Regions from separate parts of the Homo sapiens genome. Here regions 2 and 3 are each linked to region 1. The links are contacts of gene promoters, found by promoter capture Hi-C in blood cells and fetal thymus (Javierre and others, 2016). All regions are on one chromosome and are shown on one strand. The core of a region is centred on a gene start or on the middle of the fragment in contact, and the rest is flanking DNA. Distances in the headings are between cores, read along the strand shown.

Evidence for each region. Contacts are between HindIII fragments. The CHiCAGO score rates a contact against its expected background, and 5 or more counts as called.
Region 2: a fragment that was not itself captured here is called in contact with the fragment with the promoter of HEPACAM in region 1 in 1 of 17 cell types (endothelial precursors); the score reaches 5.1 in endothelial precursors.
Region 3: a contact is called between a fragment that was not itself captured here and the fragment with the promoter of HEPACAM in region 1, in 1 of 17 cell types (endothelial precursors). The highest score is 5.6, in endothelial precursors.

Annotation. Positions count from the first base shown.
Region 1 is chr11:124,934,151-124,939,158 of GRCh38, forward strand. HEPACAM (hepatic and glial cell adhesion molecule) reads right to left here and starts at 1,897. Exons shown (of 7, transcript NM_152722.5): 1 at 1,772-1,897. The coding sequence starts at 1,856. All of the region lies in intron 1 of LOC107984406 (a long non-coding RNA gene), which reads left to right. The HindIII fragment of the contact is 6,598 bases long and covers 1,333-5,008 here.
Region 2 is chr11:125,429,962-125,434,969 of GRCh38, forward strand. It overlaps PKNOX2 (PBX/knotted 1 homeobox 2), which reads left to right. Exons shown (of 13, transcript NM_001382323.2): 12 at 2-180; 13 at 1,205-3,428. The coding sequence ends at 1,431. Among named protein-coding and RNA genes, the nearest start is that of FEZ1, 64 kb to the right of the region's middle. RefSeq lists a silencer at 3,512-3,806. The HindIII fragment of the contact is 6,745 bases long and covers 1-5,008 here.
Region 3 is chr11:125,400,226-125,405,233 of GRCh38, forward strand. All of the region lies in intron 7 of PKNOX2 (PBX/knotted 1 homeobox 2), which reads left to right. Among named protein-coding and RNA genes, the nearest start is that of FEZ1, 94 kb to the right of the region's middle. The HindIII fragment of the contact is 4,522 bases long and covers 171-4,692 here.

The sequences.
Region 1 (5,008 bases), core at 647-3,146:
TTTTTTTTGTTTAAGGTTTCACACAGCAATCCTCCTTCCCTTCCTAAATCCTCCTACTTCCTACAGGTCACTAGCTCCTGACTTTACCTCTAAAATATTTTCTCAACATGCCTCATTCCTTCTATCTTTATTATAATTTCAGTCCATGTTATTTCTCCTATTTCTCTCTTGATCTATTGCAATAGCTTTTTGACCTGTGTTCCCCTCAAATTCATACGTTGGAGTCCTAACCCCCAAGTACCTCAGAATGTGAACTTATTTGGCAATGGGGTCACTGCAGATCTAATAAGAAGGGATCATACTGGAGTAGGATGGACCTAATCTAGTATGTGTCCTTATAAAAAGGGGAAATGTGGACATAGACATGCAAACACGGGGAATGCCATACCAAGACTGGAGTGATGCTGCCACAAGTCAAGGAATTACCAGAAGCTAGGAGAGAACCCTAAGGCAGAGCCCTCCCTAGAAGCTTCAGAGAGAGCATGGCCCTGCTGACACCTCGATCTCCCACTTCTGGCTTCCACGACTTTGAGATAATGCATTTCTGTTGTTTAAGCCACTCAGTTTGTGGTATTTTGTTATAGGAGCCCTAGAAAATGAATACAAACTTCCTTTCTTATTTTATTTGCCTCCAGTTTCCCCTCGAATGACCCCCTGCAGACTGAGTAAGCTATCTGAAAGGTACATGTAACCCTGACAGTCCCCAAATTAAAAACCGCTCATTCCCTCACCTCTCAATCCCCAGATTACGAGTCTGGTTTACAAAGCTCTTGCCTCACTCAATTCATGCTTTTCTCTCCAGCAGTGATGAACTGCTGGGCTCTGACTAAACACTTGATGTTATTTCAAGCTGTTGACCTTTGCTCATTTCCCAACCCTAACACCCACTTATACTCCTACCTTTTTTCCCCATCTTTTAAAATTCAGTGCACACATTCCTTCTACCAGAAAACCTCCCCCTGATATTCCCACACCCTGTGTCCTACCCTACCAACACCCCCTCCACCAGCACCAGCTTCCTGGATGGGGTAGGTGACCTTTCTCTGATTGCTATGCATTCTCTGCATAATTGACTTATGATAGTTCCTGCAGTTTAGTAAAATGATCTCCACATCTGTTTGCCTCACTAAGTTGTGAATTCCTAGGTGCTCTGTAATTGTGTGTGTGTGTGTGTGTGTATATGTGTATGTACTCATAAATAGGTATATTTAAATAAGATCACTTCTCAAAGGATTGGTAGGGGGCGGTAGAGGAGGTAAGCAGCTATGGAGTGGAGTGAATTATGGATAGGTGGGTATGACTATCCCACATTAGGAGGCTCATTATCTCCAAAGCTTCTTTCATCTGCCTTACTCTTTTACACACAGAGAAGCCAGAGTCGGGGGCTGGGGAGGTATAAAAAGAAAATTTCCCCTACCCCTACCCATCAAGCCCCACCACAATCCCTTGGAAAGAATGCCAGACTGGCCCACGCCAACAAGTCATCCCATACGAAATGGCCCAGTGCCCGCCATCTAATGTACTGAATGCCGTGGGAGCTCCAAAGTCATGCAGCCTTTTGGGGGAAGGGGGTAGGGGCCGCGCGGGAGGCACACAAAATAAAGAAATACGTTCAACGCTAATGCCTGAATTCCCTGACATGTTTCCCACGGCAGCTGAACTCTCCCCCACTCCTGCCCCAAAGGCATTCAGGCCCTCCACTCTCCCCTCCGTCTGCTGTAAAAGCCCCGGGTCCTTTCTTCAGACCCTTTCTTACCCTCTGGCCTCCTACCTGTCTGGATCAGAAGAAGGTAGACAAAAGGAGCAAGGCGCAGGGCCCTGGAGGCTCTGGACAGGGCTCCCCTTTCTCTCTTCATTTTGGGTGGCGTTCTCCAGCTCTAGTGCAGACAATTAGCATGATTTCTCCACTCTGGGCACGTCCCCTTTGTACCACTCGGAGTTTCTCTGCCCGAACACAACCCTGCCAACTTCCCTCTGAATACACAGAGCTCTGTGTATTGCTGGACTTGTTCTTTCCTCTCCCTCAGACCTGGCATTTTCTAGTTTCCAAGCCCTACATCCCCAGTTTGGAAGCAGGTATCTGCTTAGGAGATAATCTCCAACTCAGGTTCCAACATGGGGGGCACCGGCAGCCCAGCAGTTGGTTGCTTGTCTGTGCTGAGCCTCACTACCCAGGGAGATGAGGATCTGGGCTCAGAGCACTGAGCTGGGACACACACTTAACTGGACTTTGTGTCCCAACCTACCCTGTCTCCACCTAACACTCCTTCTCCCTGAGGAGGAGGGTACATGCCAGGACAGACCTCCAATAAGCTCTGAAAAGGGAGGGAGAAGAGATTTTAAAAAGCTGGGAAGTGAAAGACTCCAGACAACTGCTGAAGAAATGGAAAACCCCTGTTCCATCCCAAAGGAAGAAGACTGGAAAACAGCTTGAATTCTATTATTGTTACACTTGTCTTTCCGTGGCTTGGAATTTTCTCTTCTATCATAGAATCACATAGATGCTGGACACCTCTTTCCAGAAGCCACTCTGTTCATTCCCCTGCTTTCAGGCAATTTTCTAGAACATGTCTGAGCAAAATGAAGGTCATCTCCTAACAGCCAGCATCCTAGGGTTCTGTTACCAGCTTAACAGCCTAGCTGTGCCCTCCTGTTTTGAGGCTGTGAAGAGGAGAAACACTCTAGCTCTACTCTGACCCCCATTCATGTGTTCACACCTTTTCATGAGGGCGGCCAAGGGAATGGATGCCTAGTAACTGTGATCTTGGGATGGGCTCGCAACCTCTTTGAGCCTTCAATTTCTCATCTGTAAAATGGGGAAAAGAAGAGCTTCCTTGAGGGGAATTGTTGGGAGCGTTGATGGAGATTTGGTACAGAAGAGTACCTAGCAAATCCTTTGTTACAGAGATGATGTTTTAAACTTTTTAAAAATTGCCTTGTTTCTTTTTTCATTCATGCTGGGATCTTTATATTTTTGGGAGACCAAACTTCACAACTTCCTTCTTGGTCATCCCTAACCCCTGGTCTTGGTTTTGTAAGTGCAGCAATTATCTCTCTAAATATTCTTTTTACATACTGGAGAAAGCCTGAGTAGGTCAACTTTCTAGAACTGAAGCATTATTACATAGCCCTTCTGAGCCTCGGCAGAGGGAGAAGAGTTGGGAAGCACTGAACTTCACAGACCTCTCTGAAAACATTCTGAAATATATAAAGGGGATTCTTTTTTCCTTTTGCATTTCTGTGTTTATGACTTTTCCCTAGACAACTCAAGGCACCTTTCTTCCACTGGAAGAGGTAATGTTATTATAGCAGGTACACAAAAAGAGTCAATATTCAGCTTCTGACATTTAAAATAGCATTTCAAAGTCCATAGCAAGATGAAAGGCTTAGCCAGTCTTTGTAAGGGACAAAAGAGCATTCTAATTTCTTTTATCTACCCCTTGACATATCATAGATCAGCCTGTGGACTGGATCACAGAGTCCTTCTGGAGTGTAGATAAATGGCCTCTTTGCCTGTGATGGCTGGGCCTTGAGGCTTATGGATGGGAGTAAAAGGAGGATGCAGTGTTTGGGAAATAGAAAGCCCGAAGTCTGCCCTTGTTATCCTGAAGCACTGTGGAAAGAAAAATGTGCTAGAGGGAGACTAAAAGGATCTAAGTTCTCAATATCCCCACTTCCCCGCCCCAGAGGTGGCTCTTTATACCTGCACAGAATTTGCAAGGGCTTCTAGGTGTCCAGAAGCCCTTTAGGAGACTCAGAAGTGCCGAGAGGGTAAAGAACTGGCAGGAAACAGAAGATTGAGCAAAGGCACTGCCATGTACGGGGATTCTGAGGCCAGAGGCAACAGCTGGGACCACCTACTGCTGTGGTGGGAGCCTCAGGTAGCTCATCAGGCCAGGAAAAAATGTAGACCCTGAGTAGAGACTGGTGGGAAACCTGAGAATACCACACAGGTCCACAGACACTGTCTCCCCCTGTTGCCACAAGGTTACTTCAGCCACACCATGTATATTTACCCCAACTCTTATTAGAGAGGAGCTGGGATTGGGAGAGGACATTGGAAAGACTGCTTGAGCAATTGCCTGAGCTGTCCAAGCAGAGACTGAGCTACCTAAAGACAGTGTGAAAATGGTTGGATCAGACTGGGCTTACTGAGATGGAGTGATATTTTCCTCTGCTACCCTGGGGGCGGTGAGAGGTTCATGTGGAAGATCACAGCAACTACAAAGACATAAAGGCCTTCCCTTTCCTTTGTACGTTGGAATGTATGAGGAGTAATTTTGCAATCTTGCTTCCAGCGACTGAGTAGGCCTTTAGAAACTTATAATCATCTACTTATGTGCCTTTCTCTCCTAAGAAACAGAGAGCTCTTTGATTTAAGAGCTGTCTTATTTGTCTCTCTGTCTATAGTACCGAATACGGGGCAGGCACATAGTAGGTGCTCAATAGGCAGTTGGCAAATATTGAATGGATAAGCCCTTGCCTTAGTTCCTTTAGAGGGCTTCTCAAGCAGCTGGACAACTGGGGGTTGGGGGAGCAAGCAAGGGAGTGAGGCCACAGTTTGTGGACACATATGAGGCATCCCTTGGGAATTCCCAGAAATAACCGGGGCTCACTTTGAGTGGGGACACTGATCCAATAGGCAATTGATTTACAGAAAGATAAAGTAACAGCCTCACACATGACACAAAGTGTTTATCTCAGCTGTCTTGGCTCGCCTTATGTTATCCTTCCTTGTGTTCTTTGAGTTTTTTCCTCTGGGTGTGTCTGTCTCATGATTGTTGATGATGCTGGCTTTTTTTTTTTTAAGGGATATTCCGACTATTAATGTTACATTTCTTTAATGTCAAAAATATATTTATATTTGTTAGTCCGCATGTCCAATTTTTGGATCAGAAAGTGTGGTTATTGCGGCCATTTCCTCATGAGCCTGCAAGCCTCTCTGGAGCAGGGAACGTAATTCTTCATTCCTCTGGATCTCCCCATGGGGCCCAATTCTGAGCTCTGC
Region 2 (5,008 bases), core at 1,491-3,990, 500 kb after region 1:
GGTTCATCAATGCCCGGAGGCGCATCCTGCAGCCCATGCTTGATGCCAGCAACCCAGATCCTGCCCCCAAAGCCAAGAAGATCAAGTCTCAGCACCGGCCCACCCAAAGATTCTGGCCCAACTCCATCGCTGCGGGGGTGCTGCAGCAGCAGGGCGGTGCCCCAGGGACAAACCCCGATGGTAAGAACTGGGGCTGAGTGCACCCTAGACAAGGGCTGGGGGTGCTCCTGGAGCTTCTTCAGGTCAAGCCGTGCAAAGATTCAAGGGCTATCTCCTTACCTGGGCTCCCATCGCTGCCATGCCACAGTGATTATCCCTCCCCAAAGCCCTAAAGAAGGGGATGTTTTTGTACATAATTTAACAGACCAGATGCACTCTCATAAAGAAAAGCGGGAGTTGGTGGTCACGCAAGTCAGTGACTGCTCAGCAGAGCCCCCCATGTCCGCACCCATCTGAGTTCCTTAGCACCAGTAAGTATCTGCACAGCTCTTCAGGAGCCAAGGCCATCTATAAATATCAAGGCAGGCAGCTGGCTCGTGAACAGGGGCCAGGAAGAGCTCTGTTTTCCCAGCCTCTCCATCACACCCTCCATATACACTTTTCTAATTGCCAGTCGCCTAGTGCACAATGAATAATTCAATGAGCCAAGCATTTTATAGCTTGGCATATGAAGATAGCTCTGTATGGGGAGTGGAGCGTAGGTGTGCGTGTGTGCACACATAACCTCATGCACACGTGTATGTGTATGGTTGTGCACAGGTTCCTTTGTGATGAGCCATCTTATGGGTTATGATGGGAAAAAAAAAAACAGATTTAGGGGGCTGGACCAGCCTGGGAGAAAATTCCAACTCTGTCATCGCTGACAATGTCATCTTGAGCTAATGACTTAACTGTCTGAGACAGAATGGGGATAATAATACCTGCCTTACAGAATTGTTAGAAAGTCAAAAGTGGCCAACACATAAAGAAAATGTGCAGTGAACGGTGGCTGGGAGTGCTGCTTCCTGAGATGGGGCAGGGAGTAGCTGACTAGTGAATGGATGGGAGACTTCATACCAGGGCATTGTCCAGCTCAGGCTTGGACAGCTCTAAAAACAAGGAGTTCACTGCTCTATGAGCCAGTCCATTAAACCCTGTCCAACACAGAGGTGCTGGCCCTGACCAGCAGCCCCTGCCTCGTCCTGACCCTTGCTTTCTCTCGCAGGTTCCATCAACTTGGACAACCTGCAGTCCCTGTCCTCAGACAGTGCCACCATGGCCATGCAGCAGGCTATGATGGCTGCACACGATGACTCATTGGATGGGACAGAAGAAGAGGATGAGGATGAGATGGAAGAGGAGGAGGAGGAGGAGCTGGAGGAGGAGGTCGACGAGCTGCAGACGACAAATGTCAGCGACCTGGGCTTGGAACACAGTGACTCCCTGGAGTAGTCGGGCAGCCCAGATGGCACTGATCACTGAGCAGGAGAGGAGTGTCGCCGGGAGGCCTTCAGGGTGGGGGGGAAGGGGACATGGGCAGGAAGCACCGAGGGAGTTGGGCCCTAGCTTCCCCAAATCAGTAGCTTGAAGAAAGGCAAAGGAGACACCTGTTCCTTCCCAACCACCGAGCTTCAATGAGGACCCCAGCCCCACTTCCCTGGAACTGCCGAGGACTCTGTTTGGCGGGGCCAGTCGAGCAGCCTGTGTGGAAAGACAGGAGTGAGATCTGGACTCACCAAATCCCTGAGGATAGATGGCACCCATGGCCCCCACCCACGGAAGGACTTGAGTTGTTTACAAGCCCTGCACTGAGGCAGATTGGTGCTGTTCGCAGAGTAGGCCTTTGCCCGGGGGCAGACTTAGAAGGAAGGGGAGAGACAAAGGGGGACTGAGTTTCATCCCCAGAAGTTTCTCAGCTCCTTTGACAGACATTCAAGGGCAGGAGGGAGCCCCAAAGCATAACCAGTGGCCAGAGGAGTGGGAGGGCCTGAGGCATCACATCTTGCAGATCAGAATGGGATGGAATCCACCAGGCTCCAGCTCATCCCTCCAAGGCCCTGTCTCTGCGCACAGCAACCATGGACATGGGAGAAAGGGATGGGAGCCACAGTGCCCTTCACTCTCTCCTGGAAACCAACTGTAAGCTGGTGGGCTCAACCTGTGGGAGGTTAAGAGGAGTCCCTTCTGGGTTGACTCCAAGAGCCAAGGAGATGGCAGACCCTGGGCTAGGAACCATATGGAGGTGACTTTGAGGCCACAGCTGTCCCTAGGTGATCACAGAACTTAGCTCCTTTAACAACAGGACAATGGTTTTTTACCCTAGATGTTCCCACCTTCAGTGCTCCACGCCCTCCATAGACCTTCAGAGAAGGTGAAACCAGGTTATCTGGGAATCTTTCCAGCCCGCAGGTCGCCACGGCCATCCCTTTGCTCCCAGCCTGGCTCCATCAGCCTCCAGCTTCCTTTCTTCATTCTGTCCTTCAGGGAAGGCAGAAGAAACATTGGAAAGCATCTAGTCCAGTGGGAAGCCAGGGGTTGGAGAAGGTGCTACATCCCTCTTCCCATCAATATCCTAAATGTGGGGGAGGGCCCAGAGAATGGCACCCAAGAGCCTGCGGGGATGCCCATCCCACACACCCCACCCAGCTGTTCTAACCCTGCTATCCACAGCCCTGGAGGAACTGGGGCTCCTGGAAGGAGGAGGAGGCTCTCCACTGTCCACCCTAACACATACCCTCCCACCCACCTTCCAGACCCCCTTGGTTGGCACCCTCTCCTCCGGTTCCCTCTCACCCCATGGCTGTGAATGACAGGACAGGTCACACGTGTGTTTTCCATTGGGTTTAATTTAATGGACGTGCAGTTTCATTTGTAAATTGTGCATTGGCCACCTCCTTCAGTGGCAGGATGTGAGTGGCTACCTGGCTCAACTGGAGGGGACCCCTTGGGCCCTCTGGGGCTTCCCCTCCCCCACCTGGTTGGGGTAGAGCAAAAGGATGGTCACTCTTCCGAGGTCTCCCTGAAATGAATGTATTTCTCCCCCAAAAGAGCTGATATTTAATGTTTTAATAAGGATTTTTGAGAAACAAATAACCTTATTTATAATCTGGGTGATCCAATCATTTTTTACTCCCTTTTGATGCCATACATAGAGGAAAGTCTAGCTTTTTTGGCGTGAGACTTTTGCAATGTGCAGTGGGATAAAATGCATTTCCTTTTCTGGTTCGTTTTTCTTGTTAACACGCGCACACAGACACACACACACACCGTTCCACTCACCACCTGGACAGGCGTCCCCCAGCACGGACACACTGGCACACAGGTGCCCACATCTCTTCCTCTCAGCCCCTCCACCTGCCTAATGTTATGCAACCTCCTTCTGATGTATCCACCAAACCAGTACTGAATGTGGCCGAGACGTTTTCAGTAAATCTTATTACCTACCGTAACCCTGGTGCACAATTCTCTTTCTGTGGTTGCTGTGGCAATCCTTTGCTCTTTTCATGGGACCAGAGGCCAGACAAAATTTGGAGGCCTCAGTATACACCTGACTACCCAGGGAAGGGGACAAGGTAGATGTGCGTCCTGCGTGAGCTCAGCTGCCCTGTCTGGGGAGGAAGAGCCAATTTCAGCACACTCACCTTGTGTGCGGCCGGTTGTAAGGCAGAGCTAGGGAGAGAAGGCAAGGAAGCTCTGCACTGCCCTCTCCTGACAGCTTCCCCGACCGCAGCGGAAGCTATGAATCTGGTCCCTCTTGTCCACCATACTCCACCTCCCTCAAAGGCTTTTGCTTTCCTGTCTCCATTCCCGGCCTTGAATCCCAGGGATCAGCACCATAATCCCCCAGGCAAGAAGAAACTCAGGCAGCTGATCTCCACACAGAAGTGAGAGGCAGGCCTTCTTGTCAGCTCCAGACGAGAGGGTACCTTCTTTAGCCACACTTGCTGAGAGGTCTGGGGCATCTGTTTAGAAGCAGGAAGGGAGTGCCTTGTTCATGTTCAGGAATGCTGGAGAGTTTGCACGTACTGGCAGATCACCCCATGGCCAGGTGGAAGATAGGGAAGCCAGTGGTTGGTTACACAGGCGAAGTGGGCTCTGACCAGCTCTGGTGGAGTTCCCTGCATCACTGCCCTCAGGGAGCCCAACATCTCTCCCCCTCCTCACACCTGGAGAGAGTTCTGCAAACCCTACAGAAACCCCGCCTCTCTAGGTAGAGGAAGAAAATCTTAAGAACTGCACGATGATTGGAACCTCACCTCCAGAGCTGGGAAGACAACAGTCCTTTAAGACAGTGGTTTCTAAGGAACACACTGTTGAAAGATATGCTACCAAAAAAAAAAAAAAAAATCCATGCCCAAATTAGCCTAAGATTAACTGCATATTCTGTTTTGTTAGTAGAGTTTCATCATGCACATTATTATACTAAAGGCTCTAAAAAGTCCTACAGGAAAGAAACCTGTTGAACTTTGTTTCAATTGTTCCGAGATTTGCTCCACCTCCCTTTTTTTCAAGTAATATCTATTCAAGTTATACCAATATTCCACAAAACACACTTTAGGGAACACTATTCTAAAGAAATTGCAGAGTAGCCTGTCCTACACTCTCCCCGCCAAGTTTTTCTATCAAGTTCTGCCAGCCATCTTTTCAACCACGCTGCCAACTGAAAGTGGGTTTCTTTTTTCTTTTCTTTTTTTTTTTGAGATGGAGTTTTGCTCTTGTTGCCCAGGCTGGAGGGCTGGAGTGCAATGGCACGATCTCGGCTCACCGCAACCTCTGCCTCCCGGGTTCAAGCGATTCTCCTGCCTCAGCCTTCCAAGTAGCTGGGATTACAGGCATGAATCAACACACCCTGCTAATTTTGTATTTTTAGTAGAGATGGGGTTTCTCCATGTTGGTCAAGCTGGTCTTGAACTCCGGACCTCAGGTGACCCACCTGCCTTGGCCTCCGAAAGTGCTGGGATTACAGGTGTGAGCCACTGCGCCCGGCCTTTTAAAATTATTATTATTTATTTATTTATTTATTTTTGAG
Region 3 (5,008 bases), core at 1,182-3,681, 470 kb after region 1:
TCCTACTTGGTATTACTCAAACTTGTCCCTGCATTTTCTCTGACTGCCACCACCTGCTTTGTTCTGGCTTCGGGGGTAAATACGGTGATTACACATAGGCTATGACAGGAGCTTCCTAACCTGCTCTCCTGGCCATCCCTCAGCCCACCTGCACACCCATGCATCTCTTAAGCTTCTGCTGCTGGATTCATCTTTCTAACTTTGTTCATGTCATTCGCCTGCTCAGAAACCCTGCTTGCCATGCCCCTGGGGGTGGAAGGGAGGGCTTTCACATCTGCCCACCTGACATTCAAGGCCCTCCTAGGTCTGGCTTCAGCCTTCCTGGGTGGGCCAATCTGACTGTTCAAGGTGCTGTAACCATCACTCCATGCCTGTCTGTTCGGGTGACACCTCCCCCACAACCCCATCATCTCTGCACAACCAAACCCAGCTTCTTCCCCAAGGGTAGGAACAAGGCTGCTCACCCAGGAGGACTCCCTGATGCCCCATCCAGAATGGACGCTTCCTGCACTCCACTAACTGGTGGAGCTTGCTGAGCCATCGATATGGCAAAAGTCACTGTGACTTTATATTATAGATCCCTGTGTTCATCTCATTTTCCTATCCTAGATAACACTTTTTGAGCAGAGACAGTATTTTACATGTTTGAAATCACCAAATCACCTTATTATAGGCCAAAAACAGCCATTTCCAGCCTCTGCCTGCTGATAGTCTCTTGAAATAGACTCATCCCTTCAGAGTCCTAGTGTACTCTCCCTGTGACCCCAGCAGTGGCTACCACAAGGTCTTGTGCAAGAAAGATGGCCGGGAAGTATTTATTGAAAGAAATAATGGAATGAGAGAAAGAAAGTTGGGTGGGGGGCAGGGGCAAGGGGAAGCCAAAGGAGGAAAGGAGAAATAGGAAGAAAAATAAAGGGAAAGAAAGCCAAATATGCAGGGTCAACATTCAGGAGGGAAGCAGAGACAGGCTGAAGAATTGGAGGAAAAGAGCAAGAGAGAGAGACAGGGAGGCACACAAACCCAGGAAAAGGGAGACGATACTGAGAACGACGGGGCAGAAGGACAGACGGAGAGAGGAACGGCAGCAAGAGTGACAGCAAGTGAAAGGACAATGCATGTGGCTCAGTGCGCAGCCAGGGTACGAGGAGGCGGGAAAGTCAGGAGGATGTGCTATGTGCTGCTCCTGTTGTATTACTCAAACTTGCCCCTGCATTTTCTCTGACTGCCACTGCCTGCTTTGCTCAGGCTTCAGGGGTAAATACGGTAATTACACATAGGCTATGGCAGGAGCTTCCTAACCTGCTCTCCTGCCTTCTCTGGCCATCCCTCGGCCCACTTGCACACTCACACGTCTCTTAAGCCTTCCCAGGACAGGCCCCTGTCATTATTGCACTAAGGTAGGGGCCGGGCTTGCATGGGCTCTCCCAGGAAGGAGAGGCCCAGGGCTGCTAAGAATCGGGGACCGAGACTTTCAGTGCAGGAGGCAGGTCTTGGGTTCAAGACACAGGAGCCTGTATGAGAGAGAGAAAAGGAGCTTGTGAGTGTGTGTGTGTGTGTGTGTGTGTATGTGTGTGCACACGCGGGCACATGCATTCGTCATGGTTCACCCTTAATCCCCCCGGCCTGAAATAGCCTGAGCACCAGCCTGGCCTGGGGAGGGGTGTCTCCCCTCTGGAACATGATCCTCTGGATCAACATTCCAGCCGCCTGCCAGCTTTGTTGCAAACTGCTGGCTCATGGTTTTCCCTGTGTGCTAATCATCCAGCCTTGTGTTGCAAAGCGGGAGACATTTTTGTTTTCAACTTGGTATCCCCACTCCCAGATGCTATGCCGTGTCCTCCATCCAGATCGATGGGTTGAGCGTTTTCCTGCTCGGCCTTCGATTTCTCTGTGTGAGTCTTCTCTGCTGGGCAAAGTGGAGATGGGAAGTAAGGGAGACTGTTCTACCAAGCAGGGGACTAAAGCAGACTTTCAAAGACCTGGGCCACAGCTAGATTTTCCCCCTCCCTAGGAACCCATCCTGTGCTGCAGGCACCCAATGACACCCAGGCTTCCTACTCCTCAGAGCCCAGGCTTCTTGTGGGGGCAGGATCCTCTGTAAGGAGACTGGTTCTAGACCCTACTCTGGGTTCTCCTGTCCTTCCTAGAGGGCGCAAATGGAACCATTCCACTAGAGAGACACCTCACTCAAGTATTAGTTTGACCTGAAATTCATCCTTTTTTCTCTGTGGAGATTTAAGCCTCAGCTCTATTCCAGGCAAATTGGATTGAATCATGGTTCTCATTCAATTGCCAAGCGTTTGGGGGGCACTCACTGTATGTTCTGTGCTAGGTCCTGTGAGAACAGACACAAGCCATTGTCCAAGAGGAGCTCCCAGTCTCAGGGAGAGAGAGCCATGAGTCACAATGAGGATCTAGATAAATCATGTCAGCCGTGAAATGCTCAGGGTCAAGAGTACAGAGGAAAGGAGCAGCCAAAGAGATGGGGAGAGGAGCTGCAGGCAGGGATTCTGGATTGGGTGATCCACATGTGTGGCTTGAGGTTGCCCCAGTCTCAACTCAGCATCCTTCATCCTTCCTCAGAGGGGGACCAAGTCCCAGACCCAGCCCTCACACCTTCATGGCCAGTTTGTTCCTGCTCCACAATAGGATAAACAAACCTCAGTACAGAGTGGAGAGGACAACAGGAGGATTTTGCCCATTGTGATTGGAGAAGTTACAGATTCATTGGCCTTGGGAGGGCTTCCTCTGGGAGGTGGCATTTCAGGCAGGCTTGGTGAGAGTTGGTAGCCTATTTGGCAACCTTTATAAAGGTGAGTGTTTCCAATGTAGCAAGAAGTCTGAAAGAAGGCGAGAAACAGAGAGAGCCAATCAGAATCCCTAGAGAGGAGATGGGGTGAAGGGGGCTCATTCATTCACGCATCCTGCATCCATTCAGGCACCTCTGGAGCCTACTGAGTTCTGGGGATATAAAAAATGGATGCGACACAGTCCCAGGTCTCCAAGTGTAATGATGGAGTACCTTGAAGCCAAATGTGTGGGAGTTCTGTTTTGGGGCTAATAGTGGTGGCCGACTGCTAAAGACTTTAAAGGTAGTGGAGAATGTAGGCAACAGGGTCAGGGCTGGAGACACGCTGGAGACAAATCAATTGAGCAGCCACATCTTGTATTGGTCCAAGAAGAGCTGGCAGAAGGAGGGGAGACGGTGAACATTTATTGAGCTCCCCTCTGTCTCAAACATGGTGTGTACTAGGTGCTTTCCACAGATTATCTAATTTACTCTTCATGACAGGCTGCAAGGTACACATGATTTTCTCCATTTTACATCCAAGAAAAGAGAAGCTGAGAGAAGTGAAGACCCTGGCTCAAAGTCACACACCTAGCAAGTGCTGGAGTCCGGGATGGGCTACTCCAGAGCCCATGTTCTTCTTGCTACATGGGGATATGTTTTTGTGACACATGGGGAGAAGAATCAGGGGTCCTGGGACCTGGGTGGAGAGTGATGACCCTACCTAGCTATTGGTCAGTGGGGTAGGGACTACAGAGGAAGAAGCCAATTGCTACGAAGCAAGAATTTGGATTTGCTAGTAGACTGGAAGTAGGGAAATGAGAGGTACAAAGTTGAGGACATTCTGAGATGCTAGGCCCAGCTGCCAGATGCGACTCTGCAGCTCTGCGCCTCCCCAGCAGAATAGGAAGGGGGCTAATCAATGCATCCCCACCTGAGAAGGGTGGCACTTGCCTATTGACCTCTAAGGAATTTTGGATTTTCCAGATTGGCAGGGGGCGGAAGGGGTAGGGGGCCATCACCTCAGCCAGGACCCTAGAGGTTCTGCCCAGTGGCTAAGCATCCTGAGGACAGGACCAGGGAGAAGACTGGATGGGGCTGGGGTAGGGGGCAATCTACCCTGGAAAGATCACTACTTAGATGGACAGGGGGCATCCCTAGACTGAAGTGGAATAAAATGAGCCACACTGCCTGTCACAGGCATTAAAGCTGTCTCTTCTGCCGGTTCCTCACCCCCAGCCCTGCAGCCGTGGAGCCCAGAGACCAGAGGGTGGCCTTTGCCGCCAGGCTAGTGAAACCTGAGCGCTTCTCCCGCCTGAGAAGGAATGTTCCTTAAGAGCAGCAGCTGCTGCTTGTCCCCACAGGCCAGAACTGCCTTTCCCTTGAGACCAAGGCCCCCAACAGGAGTGGAACAAGAACAGGATTAGGTGGCTTGTTTACATGTGCTTGGCTTTCCCGAGTTTGGGAATCTGGCTTTTCTTGGTCTAAGACAGGGCCCTGGCTCTGCCAGAACGGAGGGATGCTGCCGGGAAGGGGTGTCTGGGGACAGGGACAACCTCTCCACCCTCCTAAGGCACATTTGCGCGGGCACACACACAAACACACACATCACACACACACAAACACACACACACCACCACACACAGGAATACACCCACAGCCTTAGGCCAAAGTCAGACCACACATGTATCTCGCATGTACCATGCACTTAACATTGCGCTAAGCAGTTTCGGGGAATTCAGAGAAAGACCCCTCTTTCCCTCAAAAAGCCTGCCACCAAGCTAGGGAAAGACGACGCCTGCATTAGAGAGAACCATTCTGTTGTGTCCAGTATGTAAGGCAGATGGGAGGCTTTGAAGAGTCCAGAGGACGGGCCGCGGCTGTGCCCTGGAGAGGTCAGGACAAGCTTTCCAGCAGAAAGGAGACATTCAGAACCGACCCCCACCCGCCCCGAGCCCAGGCAGGGGAGCCGCCAGCACGCGCCTTCTGGGAGGCTTTGGTGAGTGTGGTCTGAGCCGGTGGATCAGCAGAGACCTCTAGTGGCCGGGGGGAGGATGGCAGGTGGCTGGGGCTGGCTCCGCACTGCACCCCACTCCGGCCACCGACTCACCGTCACCCACCCTCCCACACAATCCTTAGGAAATGGCATGGGCTCTTTTACAGTCCTCAGCTGGAAGGATCTTTGCCAGGCCATCCCGTTCATTCCCCTGTTTCACAGGC